4 separate regions of the Homo sapiens genome follow, and regions 2, 3 and 4 are each linked to region 1. The links are contacts of gene promoters, found by promoter capture Hi-C in blood cells and fetal thymus (Javierre and others, 2016). All regions are on one chromosome and are shown on one strand. Each heading gives the region's core, a stretch centred on a gene start or on the middle of the fragment in contact. The rest is flanking DNA. Distances are from core to core; before and after follow the strand shown. Region 1 holds the start of SLCO4A1 (solute carrier organic anion transporter family member 4A1). Region 2 holds the start of CABLES2 (Cdk5 and Abl enzyme substrate 2). Region 3 holds the start of TCFL5 (transcription factor like 5). Region 4 overlaps OGFR (opioid growth factor receptor).

What was found. Contacts are between HindIII fragments. The CHiCAGO score rates a contact against its expected background, and 5 or more counts as called.
Region 2: a contact is called between the fragment with the promoter of CABLES2 here and the fragment with the promoter of SLCO4A1 in region 1, in 3 of 17 cell types (endothelial precursors, M0 macrophages and M1 macrophages). The highest score is 6.3, in endothelial precursors.
Region 3: the fragment with the promoter of TCFL5 here is called in contact with the fragment with the promoter of SLCO4A1 in region 1 in 3 of 17 cell types (naive CD4 T cells, monocytes and non-activated CD4 T cells); the score reaches 5.9 in naive CD4 T cells.
Region 4: a contact is called between a fragment that was not itself captured here and the fragment with the promoter of SLCO4A1 in region 1, in 9 of 17 cell types (naive CD4 T cells, total CD8 T cells, naive B cells and 6 more). The highest score is 8.6, in naive CD4 T cells.

Annotation. Positions count from the first base shown.
Region 1 is chr20:62,641,146-62,643,833 of GRCh38, forward strand. SLCO4A1 (solute carrier organic anion transporter family member 4A1) reads left to right here and starts at 1,358. Exons shown (of 12, transcript NM_016354.4): 1 at 1,358-1,408. LOC124904949 (a long non-coding RNA gene) reads right to left here and starts at 1,192. Exons shown (of 2, transcript XR_007067711.1): 1 at 508-1,192; 2 at 1-201. RefSeq lists a silencer at 846-1,795. The HindIII fragment of the contact is 5,977 bases long and covers 481-2,688 here.
Region 2 is chr20:62,405,981-62,408,668 of GRCh38, forward strand. CABLES2 (Cdk5 and Abl enzyme substrate 2) reads right to left here and starts at 1,305. Exons shown (of 10, transcript NM_031215.3): 1 at 935-1,305. The coding sequence starts at 1,296. It overlaps LOC105372709 (a long non-coding RNA gene), which reads right to left and starts at 914. Exons shown (of 2, transcript XR_936967.3): 1 at 1-914. RefSeq lists a silencer at 1,222-1,471. The HindIII fragment of the contact is 20,791 bases long and covers 1-2,688 here.
Region 3 is chr20:62,860,451-62,863,138 of GRCh38, forward strand. TCFL5 (transcription factor like 5) reads right to left here and starts at 1,372. Exons shown (of 6, transcript NM_006602.4): 1 at 574-1,372. The coding sequence starts at 1,220. LOC105372717 (a long non-coding RNA gene) reads left to right here and starts at 985. Exons shown (of 4, transcript XR_936989.4): 1 at 985-1,091. RefSeq lists silencers at 791-940, 1,441-1,630, 1,681-1,780 and an enhancer at 1,165-1,819. The HindIII fragment of the contact is 6,144 bases long and covers 1-2,688 here.
Region 4 is chr20:62,811,383-62,814,070 of GRCh38, forward strand. OGFR (opioid growth factor receptor) reads left to right here. Exons shown (of 7, transcript NM_007346.4): 6 at 80-228; 7 at 848-2,618. The coding sequence ends at 2,267. Among named protein-coding and RNA genes, the nearest start is that of COL9A3, 4.3 kb to the right of the region's middle. The HindIII fragment of the contact is 7,148 bases long and covers 1-2,688 here.

The DNA of each region.
Region 1 (2,688 bases), core at 108-2,607:
CCCTCTCCATCTGGGAACAATGTGGGTACTTTTTTCTCTTAAAGGGCAGTGTCAGGAATGAAAGCAGATACCCAAAAGCAGTGGGTCTCGTGGCCTCGTGTCTGCTTCCAGAAGTGGAGGGCGGCCTGGGACGGCGGGAGCCCTGAGGACACCACCGGGGGGGTCCCGGGACCTGATACGAGTGGGCAGGAGCCCCAAGCCCTGGAGGAAGGAAAACCATTTCATAAATAACTGCATGGGGTTGTGGGCCTTTTCTCACAAGCCGCAGCACCTCCTTCGTCTCTCCACGGTGAACCCGCCCGCCACGCTATGCCACCAGGCCAGGTCCTGCAGCACCGCCTCCGTGGCTAGGACTTCCTCACCAGCCTGGGGCCGTGAGGTGGTCATTTCCCCCCTTACCTGACTTATCTCAGGATTCACACACACACACTTGACTTTCGGAAACTTCTTTTAAATTAATTTCACTGACACTAAAAGGGAAGCTTTGTGGAGTGTGATTGTGGTTACCTGTTAATACTTGGCAACAATTATGAGCCCTGATATGAGCCAACTTCTTCCGTCTTATCCCCTTTGAGGACGCTCTGTTATCGCCCCCATTTTGCAAACGAGGAAACTGAGGCTCGGAGGCCTGGAGCAATGTGTTCCAGGACAGACGGCAGGAAGCCGGGGTAGGAATTCCAACAGGGAGTTCCCTCTGTGGAAGGGAACGTGGCTGGCACCTCCCTGCCTTCCACCCTCAGAGCTAGTGTGAAAAAGAAGACGGGGTTATGGAAAAGGCAACGGGCTGGAGATTCCCCGGATTCCCAGGCTAGGGCGCCGGTCTCACTGTGCGCGCAGGTGGGGCGCGTGCCAGAACAGGGCCTGGGGGTCAGGCCGAGACCGGCGGGCACCTTCACCAGGGCCGCCCGTGGCGTTCCCCCAGCCCCTCTGCCGCGGGCCCCACGTGGCCCCGACCCTGCGGCAGCCTTTCGGAAGGGCGGAGCTGAAAAACGGCCGCTTGGCTCCACTCGGCCCCACAGCGCCCAGGAGCGAATCCCGAGTCCGTTCGGAACCGCCTCGCCGCGTGGCCTGGGGCGGCGTCGCCACCGCGCGTTCTCGGCCTCCCGGCTGCGGCAGCGATGCCGGTCCTTGGAGCTGGAGCGGGGAGTCCAGGAGGCGGCAGCGCTCCGGAGAGAGACGCCCTGGTCCCCCGCCGCGCGTTCCCGCCTCTGTGCCCTGGGGGGGAGGAGGGGGCGGTCGCCGCTGCCATTGGCCGTGGGGGGTGAGGCGGGCCCCGCGCAGGAAACCCCGCCCCTCCCTCTGCGGCGGGGGCGGCCCCAGCGGATGAATGAAGCGGCGCGTGGCTGCCGGGGAGGCCAGAGCGTGGAGCGCTGCGCGGCGCGGCGGCCGGGCCCTCGAGACGGGGACGGTGAGTGCGCGGGGAGCGGGGAGCTGGCGCGGGTGCACAGGGCCCGACCTGCTGGCGTAGGAGCGCGGCAGGTGCCGCCATCGTGGGCAGGGGCTGGAGCGCCGGGGGGATGCGCGCGGGGGCGGGAGGCCTGGGCACCGGCCGAGCGCCCCGAGCCTCTCCGCGGGGGAGGGCAGGACCGAGCGGAATCGGAGGCCAAATTCGCCGCTTCCCGCCGCCGGCTGCGCAGGTAGGAGCTCCCGAGTCGCCCGCAGGAGGACCGAGGCGAAGGGGCCCCACGCTGCAGCGGGTGCCGGGGGGAAGCGGGTGAGCAGGGGCTGCGGCCCTGGCAGGGACTGTCGGAGTGGCCGGGGCAGGTGACCTGGGCAGGTGGCCCGGAGCGCGCGCAGGCGCAGGCCCCACAGATCCAGCTGGGGACGAACGCGCCTCCGCGGAGCTCCAGAGTTGCGGAGTCACCCACCTGCGGCGGCCGCTGCTGCCGAGTCAAGGAGGAAACCTTCATGCACGGAAGTTTCTCGGGGGCGGCCGGGCTTTGTTCGCGCCAGAGGCGCTCGAGACATCTCCGGGAGGGGAGCGCGGGCGGAGCGCACAGGGCTAGTTTCCAGCAGCGGCGGCGCCCCTTTCCCTGCCCCACCACGCGACGTCCTGGCCGTGGCTTGGGGGGACCCGGGCGCCCTCCAGGTGCAGGCAGAGGGTCGGGTGCCCTCGCGTTGCTGTTGGGCTCCCCTGACCAGGGAGGATGGAAAGGAAGGAGCAGGCAGGCTTAGCTGCCCTAGACCGGCCCTAGACCGGGAACCTGGAAGCAGATCTGACTTCCACTTCCAAGGGAGAAACCGCCTCCCGCACTGGCGCCCCGAGGGGAGAGAGAAGCCCAGCTAGGTTTCCGCGTGGTCCGCGTGGTTGGTGAACCCTCAGGCTGGGGGGTGCCCCGCTTGGCGTGCAAGGCCCTCTTTGGAGCTGCCGTGGGACCTGGCTATGCGTCCTGTTTCTGTCTGGAGGCGGCTGGAACGCGGTAGTTTTCCACATCCATGCAACCAGCTTGTCAGCTGCTGCTCCTCAGCTGTGGTTTTTGGAACTTGGGTTACCTCCATCTAATCAGAAACTGGCTCTGCAGAGCCCGGTGTCAGCGACGTTTTCATTCCCAGCAGCGGGAGCAAATGGATCTCAGAGGACAGCTCCTTGGCCTTAGCCGGCTCCGCTTGTGAATCTGGTAATAATGACAAGGACAGTGACAGCAGGGGTTAGGTGTTGAGTGCTGGAATGTGCCGGGCATGGTACCC
Region 2 (2,688 bases), core at 55-2,554, 240 kb before region 1:
CAGGGGGCACACGCTGGACAGGCAGGGCTCATGGTTGGGGTTGCCCTGGGATGGGCTGAGGTGGTTCCCAGAAATGGAATCAAGGCAGGGGGAGCAGTGGAGACCCAGGGTGTGACAGACCCAAAGATACCGAGCTGAGAGTGATGTGGGGAAGGGCGGGGCTCAGCAGGGAAGTGACAGGGAGAGGAGGGGTGCCAGAGACCAGTGGCTGTGGGATGGGAGATGTGGCTGTGCAGGGGCCTCTGGGAACAGGTGTCAGTGACAGTGCCAGGAGGACCCCGGCCCACATGCTGGGTCTGAGGAGGTGGGCATGGACGGTGTGGCCCGGTTCAAAGAATGCGAAGAGATGCACAGGGCTGTCCATGTGTCCCTGTGTCCCGGGCACTGGTACCAGTGGATGGGGGTGGGGGCATGTCCAGAACCCACAGGGCTGGGGGTCTCAGGGGTAATAAGGGCTGAACCCTAAAACCCATTTCAGAGCACTGACAACGTGGAGATCCAGACCCCGTATTCAGGGGCTGGGAGAATTCAGGGGACAATGAACCCTATGTGTGGGGGGTGACAGGGCCTGAGGAAACCCTCAGCCAGCCCAGGAACCCCCAGTTCTGTATCCAGGACTGACAAGGTCCCAGGTGAACCCAACCCCTGTGTCCTGGGCTGATGAGGGCCCAGACTGACCCTGACCCCTGTGTCCTGGGTTGACAGGGGCTCAGGTCACCTGAACCTCTGTCCAGGGCTGACAAGGCCCCAGGTGAACCCAACCCCTTTGTCCTGGCCTCTGTCCAGGGCTGACAAGGCCCCAGGTCACCTGACCCCCTTGTCCTGGGCTGATGAGGCCCCAAGTAATCCTGACCCCTAGTCCTGGGCTGATCCGGCCCCCGTCCCCGTCCCTGTACCCCGCGTCCTGGGCTGACCTGGCCGGGCCCCCACTCACCTCTGGCGCTGCCCATCCAGGCCGAGGCCGGTGGGCACCTGCGTGGGGCTGAGCAGGCCCTGGGGCGCGGGGGTCCTGGCGGGCAGCCCGGTGGGGGGCTCCGGCGGCGGCGGCGCTGGCGGTTCGCGGGCCTCGGCGGGCGGCGGCGGGGGCTTCTCTCCGCCCGGGCCCAGGCTCGGGGGCCGCCCGTCCAGGGAGATGTTGTTGAGGAAGAAAAGCGCGGCCTGGCGGCGCCGCGAGTCCCCGCGCCTCCGCAGCGCCTGCGGCGGGGCCCGAGCGGCCGAGGTCGGCGCGGCGGGTGGCGGGGGCCCGGCGGGGCCGGGGGCCGGGCCCGGGGCTCCACCGGCCGCGGCCGCGGCCATCCTCAGACTGCGCCCGCCGCCGCGAAGCGCCCCACCCCCTGCCCGCGCGCCCGCGCGCCCGCCGCCCATTGGCCGCGGCGCGCCCACATGCAAATGTATCGCCGTCGCGCTCTCCCATTGGCCAGCGAGGTGCCGCGCTCAGGGCGCTCCCCTGGGTCCTAGAGGCGGTCGGACGCAGCAGCAGGGAGTCGGGAGCTGCGCGCCTCCCCGCCGGTTCGAGTCCCCGTCTTGGGACCTGCGGCCGCGGGGCTCTCGCTTTCTGTTCCCTTTGCTGTATGGCGGCCTTCGCGGATGGCCTCCATCGAGCGCACATTTTAAGGCTCCGGACCCAGGGCGGCGTGGGTGAGGCCCCAGCACACTTCCCTGTCCGGAGGTGTGTCTGGGCGGCGCTTCAGCGGGCGCAGGGCGGCCCCTGGAGGAGCCCCACCGCTTCCCGGAAGGGCCCGCGTGCCATCTGGCCTCCTTCATTGACAGAAGGGAACGAGGGTCTGAGTGGAGAAGGCACCTGCTTGGGATCAAAGCCCCAGGCAGAGTCCTGCACTTCCTGCAGTAGCAAAGTGACCTTGAGCCTGCCTTGTGCCCAGGCCTGTTTCCTCTCTGTGCCTGGGTGCCCCTGACTTCAGAACCTGTGAGCCCGTGGCACCGGGATGGTCAGGGCCTGCCTCTGGAGCCCGGGAGCCTGTCTGCAGTCTGGAGGGGAACCCGCTGTATCTTTGTGGAGGGACTCAGGACCTTGCACCCACCTCTGTGTCACCTGCCTGCTCTGTCCAGCTTTCTTTCATGGGTTTACGTATCTTTAAAGAGGGGACAATGATTTCAGCCTCAGGGTACTGTCAGGATGAAACTGGCTCAGTGAGGGGGTCGGGCTGTGGCCGGAGGCCAGGCACATGCAGTGGTCAGTCCGCGAATGCGCTGCAGTACCTCGCACCTGCCCGCATGCGCCCAGCCTCTCCTGTGCTGGGTGCTGGGGACCCGGTGGGACCGACAGGCACAGCGCTGGCCCTAGGAGCACCTGGTGTGTGGGGAGGCAGCATGATGGCCAACAAGGCAGTGGGCGAGTGGGCAAGACAGGGTCTTCATCACCACCCCTAGCATGGGCCCCTGCCCTTCAGGCCCCTACCCACCTCCCGCCTGCCTGCTCCCTCCTGTGGGCCTTCACGGGCCACCATTGGGGCTCACGCAGCATGCAGCACCTCCATTTCCTTTCCCTCCGCCCTTCCAAGTTGGCCTCCAAGGCCTCTGCCAGGCCTAGGGGAAGGTGGGCAGCTGTCCTGTCTAGGAGAACGCGGGGCTGGGTGGCATAGCAGAGGGGTGGCTGCGGATTCTGGATCCACAGAATGGGGTGCTGACTTGTGTGCCTGGGGGCTCCCGTGAGCGGGGAGTGAGTGTGTC
Region 3 (2,688 bases), core at 122-2,621, 220 kb after region 1:
TATCGCTGCTGTGGAAGTCCTCCTCTTCCTATGGAGGAAAAGCAAAACTGCGCCACCTCCCTGCTCTCATCACATCCTGACACCAATCTCACTTTTGCCATCCTCCAGTGTGACCACGATGGGCAACTACAGGCTGGGATGAGCAGAAAACTGCGGACGCAGCCCCTTCCACAGCCATCCCTGAGGGTCGCCAAGGGGGCGGCTGCAGGCTGGAGCCTCATTTTAGAGCTCAAAGCCTGCAAACCCCCGTCGGGCCTTCCTAGGCTTCCCTGACATCCAAGAGTGCCACCCGGAGCACATGGTTCCCAGGAATTCTGCGCGCTCGGCCCCACTCCAGGCGGGGCCACTGAGGGAGGGGGTGTTTAGTTTCTGGAAGTACCTGCTCCCCGGGGCCCGCACAGCGCACACAGCCTTTCGGGGCGGCCCCAGACCCGGTGAGGTCCGCGCCCTGTGCCGCCGGGAGGGCAGGCTGGGGGCGTGCACAGCGAGGGCCCCCTTTGCCTCCGCCCCGGCCCCGGCCCCGGCCTCGGCCTCCACCCGGGCCCCGCCAGCCCCCGGCCGCCGGGCACGCACTTGTTGAGCGCCCCGCCCGGCTCGGGGGGCTCGGGGCCGCGCGGCGCGGGCGGCGGCTCGGCGGGGATGCTGTTGAAGCGGTCCTCCAGGCGGACGCGCACGGCCGGCTTGGCCCGGGCCTCGGGCGCGCCGTCGGGTCCAGCCGCAGCCGCAGCCGCGCCCGCGCCCTCCTTGGCGGCGCCGTCGGCCCGGGCCCTCGCTCCGTCCCCGCCGCCCGACGTCTTCTCCGCCGCGCCCGCCTCGCTTAGCAGCATCATGCGCAGCTCCTGGAAGTCGATGTGGCCCAGGCAGGGCGCGTCGGCCGCCAGCGCGGACGGGCACAGCACGGGGTACACGGGCGCCGCGCCCCCCTGACCGCCCGCCGCGAAGCCGCCCGCGCCTGCGCCCGGGCCCGCCGCCGCCAGCAGCGCCGAGTTGAGGCGCGTCTCGAGCTCGCCGTCAGCCGCCGCCTCCATGTGCGAGCAGAGGATGTGCTGCAGCTGCGTGTACTCCACCTCCGTCATCTCCACCAGGCTCAGGTCGGTGGTCGTGAAGCTCAGCCCCGGCTCGCCCAGCGCCGCGTCCCCGCCGCCCGCGCCCTCGACGGCCGCCTCGCCGCCTGCCGCGCCTGCCTCCGGCGGCGGCTCCCGCGGTCCGGGGCCCGACATGGCGGCGCGGCGCGGCCCAACGGCGGCGAGGGCGACGCGGGCGGCGGGCGGCGGGAGGCGGGAGGCGGGAGGCGGGAGGCGACCCCCGGCCCGAGCACTACTCTGCGCCGGCCACAGCCGGCGCGCCGTTGGGGGAGGGAAAACCGCTGAGTGCCGCGCACAGCGCCTGCGCCGCCCCGCCCCGCAACGGCAACCCCACCCCTGCGCCAGCCCCGCCCCCTCCGTTACCCGCCGCCGCCGGCCCCGCCCCCGCCCAACCGCCCGCACGCCCGGCCCCGCCCCACGTCGGCGGATGCTTGCGCGGAGGGCCCGCCCCCACGGCCCAGCCACGCCCCCACAGCTAGGCCACGCCCCCAGCTCAGGCCACGCCCGGTTCCCAGCCACGCCCCTGCTGCCCGGCCACTCCCCGCTGAGGCCCGGCGAGGGCGGCTGCGCTGGAATCAGCGTGATACCTACGCGGTGACACCCTGGGGAGAAGCCACGTCCGTGCGTGCACGTGCGCCCCATTACAGCGGCAGGAATGAAGACGTTGTCAAAACAGCTCCCTGGACCCACAGTCCACAGTGCCCAGGCCATCCGCTTCATCCGCGTAAAATGCGCAGCGCATGGCCGGGTTCTGTGGCTCATGCCTGTAATCCCAGTACTTTGGGAGGCCGAGGCAGGTGGATCAGGAGGTCAGGAGATCGAGACCAGCCTGGCCAACATGGTGAAACCCCGTCTCTACTAAAAATACAAAAATTAGCTGGACGTGGTAGTGCGTGCCTGTAATCCCAGCTACTCGGGAGGCTGAGGCAGGAGAATCGCTTGAACCCGGGAGGCGGAGGTTGCAGTGAGTCGAGATCTTGCCACTGCACTCCAGCCTGGGCAACAGAGCCAGACTTCATCTCAAAAAAAAAAAAAAAATGCACAGCGCGACGGTGGTGGTACATTCCCAGCGCTGGGCCCGCCTCCACCGCTGCATTCACCACCGGTCTCCTGTAGCAGTCAGCACACTGCCCCTCCCCCGCCTGCAGCCACTAATCTTCTGTGTCCAGGAGTTTGCCTAGGCTGGGCCTTCCCTGTTAAGGGAACTATGCAATATGTGGTCTTTAAGAGACTTATTTTTGCAATCTTGAAATAATTCCTGTACTTAACCTCTCACCCACATTCCCATCTCACTCAGTGGTTGTCTGTTCTCTGTCTAGGCATTAGGACACTTAAAGGCCTGTGACTTGCACATCGTCTTCTAAGCCGGGTCTGAATCTTTCGCTCATTTCATCACAGTTTAGACACAGACCAATATATTACAATGATTCAACGATGGGCTATGAAAGCTCAGCCATGCAAATCTAAACTCACACATGTATACATGAAAATAATATATCAGTTTTGGGCAAAACATCAGGTTTCAGAAAACACTACCAAGGAGGAAAGCAAGGACTTAAAACTCTCAAGGACATGGCAACAGAAGTCGTCTAACGTAAAACAG
Region 4 (2,688 bases), core at 1-2,500, 170 kb after region 1:
GGGACCCACGGCCACCCCCACACTCAGGAACCGGGGCTTCAGGGATGGTGCCTGAGCTCTCCAAGGGGGTCTTTTCCAGGTGTTTAAAAGCTCCCAGGAGATCCAGGAGCGGCTTGTCCGGGCCTACGAGCTCATGCTGGGCTTCTACGGGATCCGGCTGGAGGACCGAGGCACGGGCACGGTGGGCCGAGCACAGAACTACCAGAAGCGCTTCCAGAACCTGAACTGGTGAGGCCCGGCTGCTCCCGCCCACCCCCACCCCGGCGCAGAACAGGGCCACGTCAGGTTTCGGGCAGGTCACAGAGCGCTGCTGCAGACGGAGAACTCCAGGGCTGTTTGGGCAATGGACCAAGGCCCTGAGTCCCCTCCTTGCTGCCTGTAGAGCCGGGCGGTCCCTCCCCGATAGGGTTGGTGAGAAGGTAAAGAATGCTCTTCCTGCACCCAGGAGGTGGCAGTCCACATAGAGAAGCAAGCAGGGGTGATGGAGAACCTGCAGGCGGTACAGCCAGTTCTCACAGGGTGTTCGAGGCGCCTGTACCCTGCAGGGGCCCCTTGTGGCTCTCATCCAGCCAGCTCCTCCCCACCAGGGGGACTCGGGGTACAGCCACCCTCTAGGTGATGCGTCAGCATCCCCCTAACCCCCGTGTGTCTAGGGCCCACAGGCCATTTTCACAGGGATGGCATGAGTCCTCCCCTGGGCCCAGAGAGGTAAATGGAGAGAGAGACTGAATCGTGGGCCAGGGTGGGGAGACCTCGTGGAGCCGGGTGGGAGGGCAGGCCAGGGCGGGGTGCGGCCCAGCAGGAGGGGCCCCAGCCATTGACCTCTCCTGACCCGGATCTCTCGCAGGCGCAGCCACAACAACCTCCGCATCACACGCATCCTCAAGTCGCTGGGTGAGCTGGGCCTCGAGCACTTCCAGGCGCCGCTGGTCCGCTTCTTCCTGGAGGAGACGCTGGTGCGGCGGGAGCTGCCGGGGGTGCGGCAGAGTGCCCTGGACTACTTCATGTTCGCCGTGCGCTGCCGACACCAGCGCCGCCAGCTGGTGCACTTCGCCTGGGAGCACTTCCGGCCCCGCTGCAAGTTCGTCTGGGGGCCCCAAGACAAGCTGCGGAGGTTCAAGCCCAGCTCTCTGCCCCATCCGCTCGAGGGCTCCAGGAAGGTGGAGGAGGAAGGAAGCCCCGGGGACCCCGACCACGAGGCCAGCACCCAGGGTCGGACCTGTGGGCCAGAGCATAGCAAGGGTGGGGGCAGGGTGGACGAGGGGCCCCAGCCACGGAGCGTGGAGCCCCAGGATGCGGGACCCCTGGAGAGGAGCCAGGGGGATGAGGCAGGGGGCCACGGGGAAGATAGGCCGGAGCCCTTAAGCCCCAAAGAGAGCAAGAAGAGGAAGCTGGAGCTGAGCCGGCGGGAGCAGCCGCCCACAGAGCCAGGCCCTCAGAGTGCCTCAGAGGTGGAGAAGATCGCTCTGAATTTGGAGGGGTGTGCCCTCAGCCAGGGCAGCCTCAGGACGGGGACCCAGGAAGTGGGCGGTCAGGACCCTGGGGAGGCAGTGCAGCCCTGCCGCCAACCCCTGGGAGCCAGGGTGGCCGACAAGGTGAGGAAGCGGAGGAAGGTGGATGAGGGTGCTGGGGACAGTGCTGCGGTGGCCAGTGGTGGTGCCCAGACCTTGGCCCTTGCCGGGTCCCCTGCCCCATCGGGGCACCCCAAGGCTGGACACAGTGAGAACGGGGTTGAGGAGGACACAGAAGGTCGAACGGGGCCCAAAGAAGGTACCCCTGGGAGCCCATCGGAGACCCCAGGCCCCAGCCCAGCAGGACCTGCAGGGGACGAGCCAGCCGAGAGCCCATCGGAGACCCCAGGCCCCCGCCCAGCAGGACCTGCAGGGGACGAGCCAGCCGAGAGCCCATCGGAGACCCCAGGCCCCCGCCCGGCAGGACCTGCAGGGGACGAGCCAGCCGAGAGCCCATCGGAGACCCCAGGCCCCAGCCCGGCAGGACCTACAAGGGATGAGCCAGCCGAGAGCCCATCGGAGACCCCAGGCCCCCGCCCGGCAGGACCTGCAGGGGACGAGCCAGCCGAGAGCCCATCGGAGACCCCAGGCCCCCGCCCGGCAGGACCTGCAGGGGACGAGCCAGCCGAGAGCCCATCGGAGACCCCAGGCCCCAGCCCGGCAGGACCTACAAGGGATGAGCCAGCCAAGGCGGGGGAGGCAGCAGAGTTGCAGGACGCAGAGGTGGAGTCTTCTGCCAAGTCTGGGAAGCCTTAAGGAAAGGAGTGCCCGTCGGCGTCTTGGTCCTCCTGTCCCTGCTGCAGGGGCTGGGGCCTCCGGAGCTGCTGCGGGCTCCCCTCAGGCTCTGCTTCGTGACCCGTGACCCATGACCCACAGTGCTGGCCTCCTGTGGGGCCACTATAGCAGCCACCAGAAGCCGCGAGGCCCTCAGGGAAGCCCAAGGCCTGCAGAAGCCTCCTGGCCTGGCTGTGTCTTCCCCACCCAGCTCTCCCCTGCGCCCCTGTCTTTGTAAATTGACCCTTCTGGAGTGGGGGGCGGCGGGCAGGGCTGCTTTTCTTAGTCTGATACCAAGCAAGGCCTTTTCTGAATAAATTCATTTGACTTTGAGTCTTTGGTATGGACCGGGGTCCTGTTGGGTGGCTGGTAGGGCTGGTGTCACAGCTGATGTCCCTCCAGG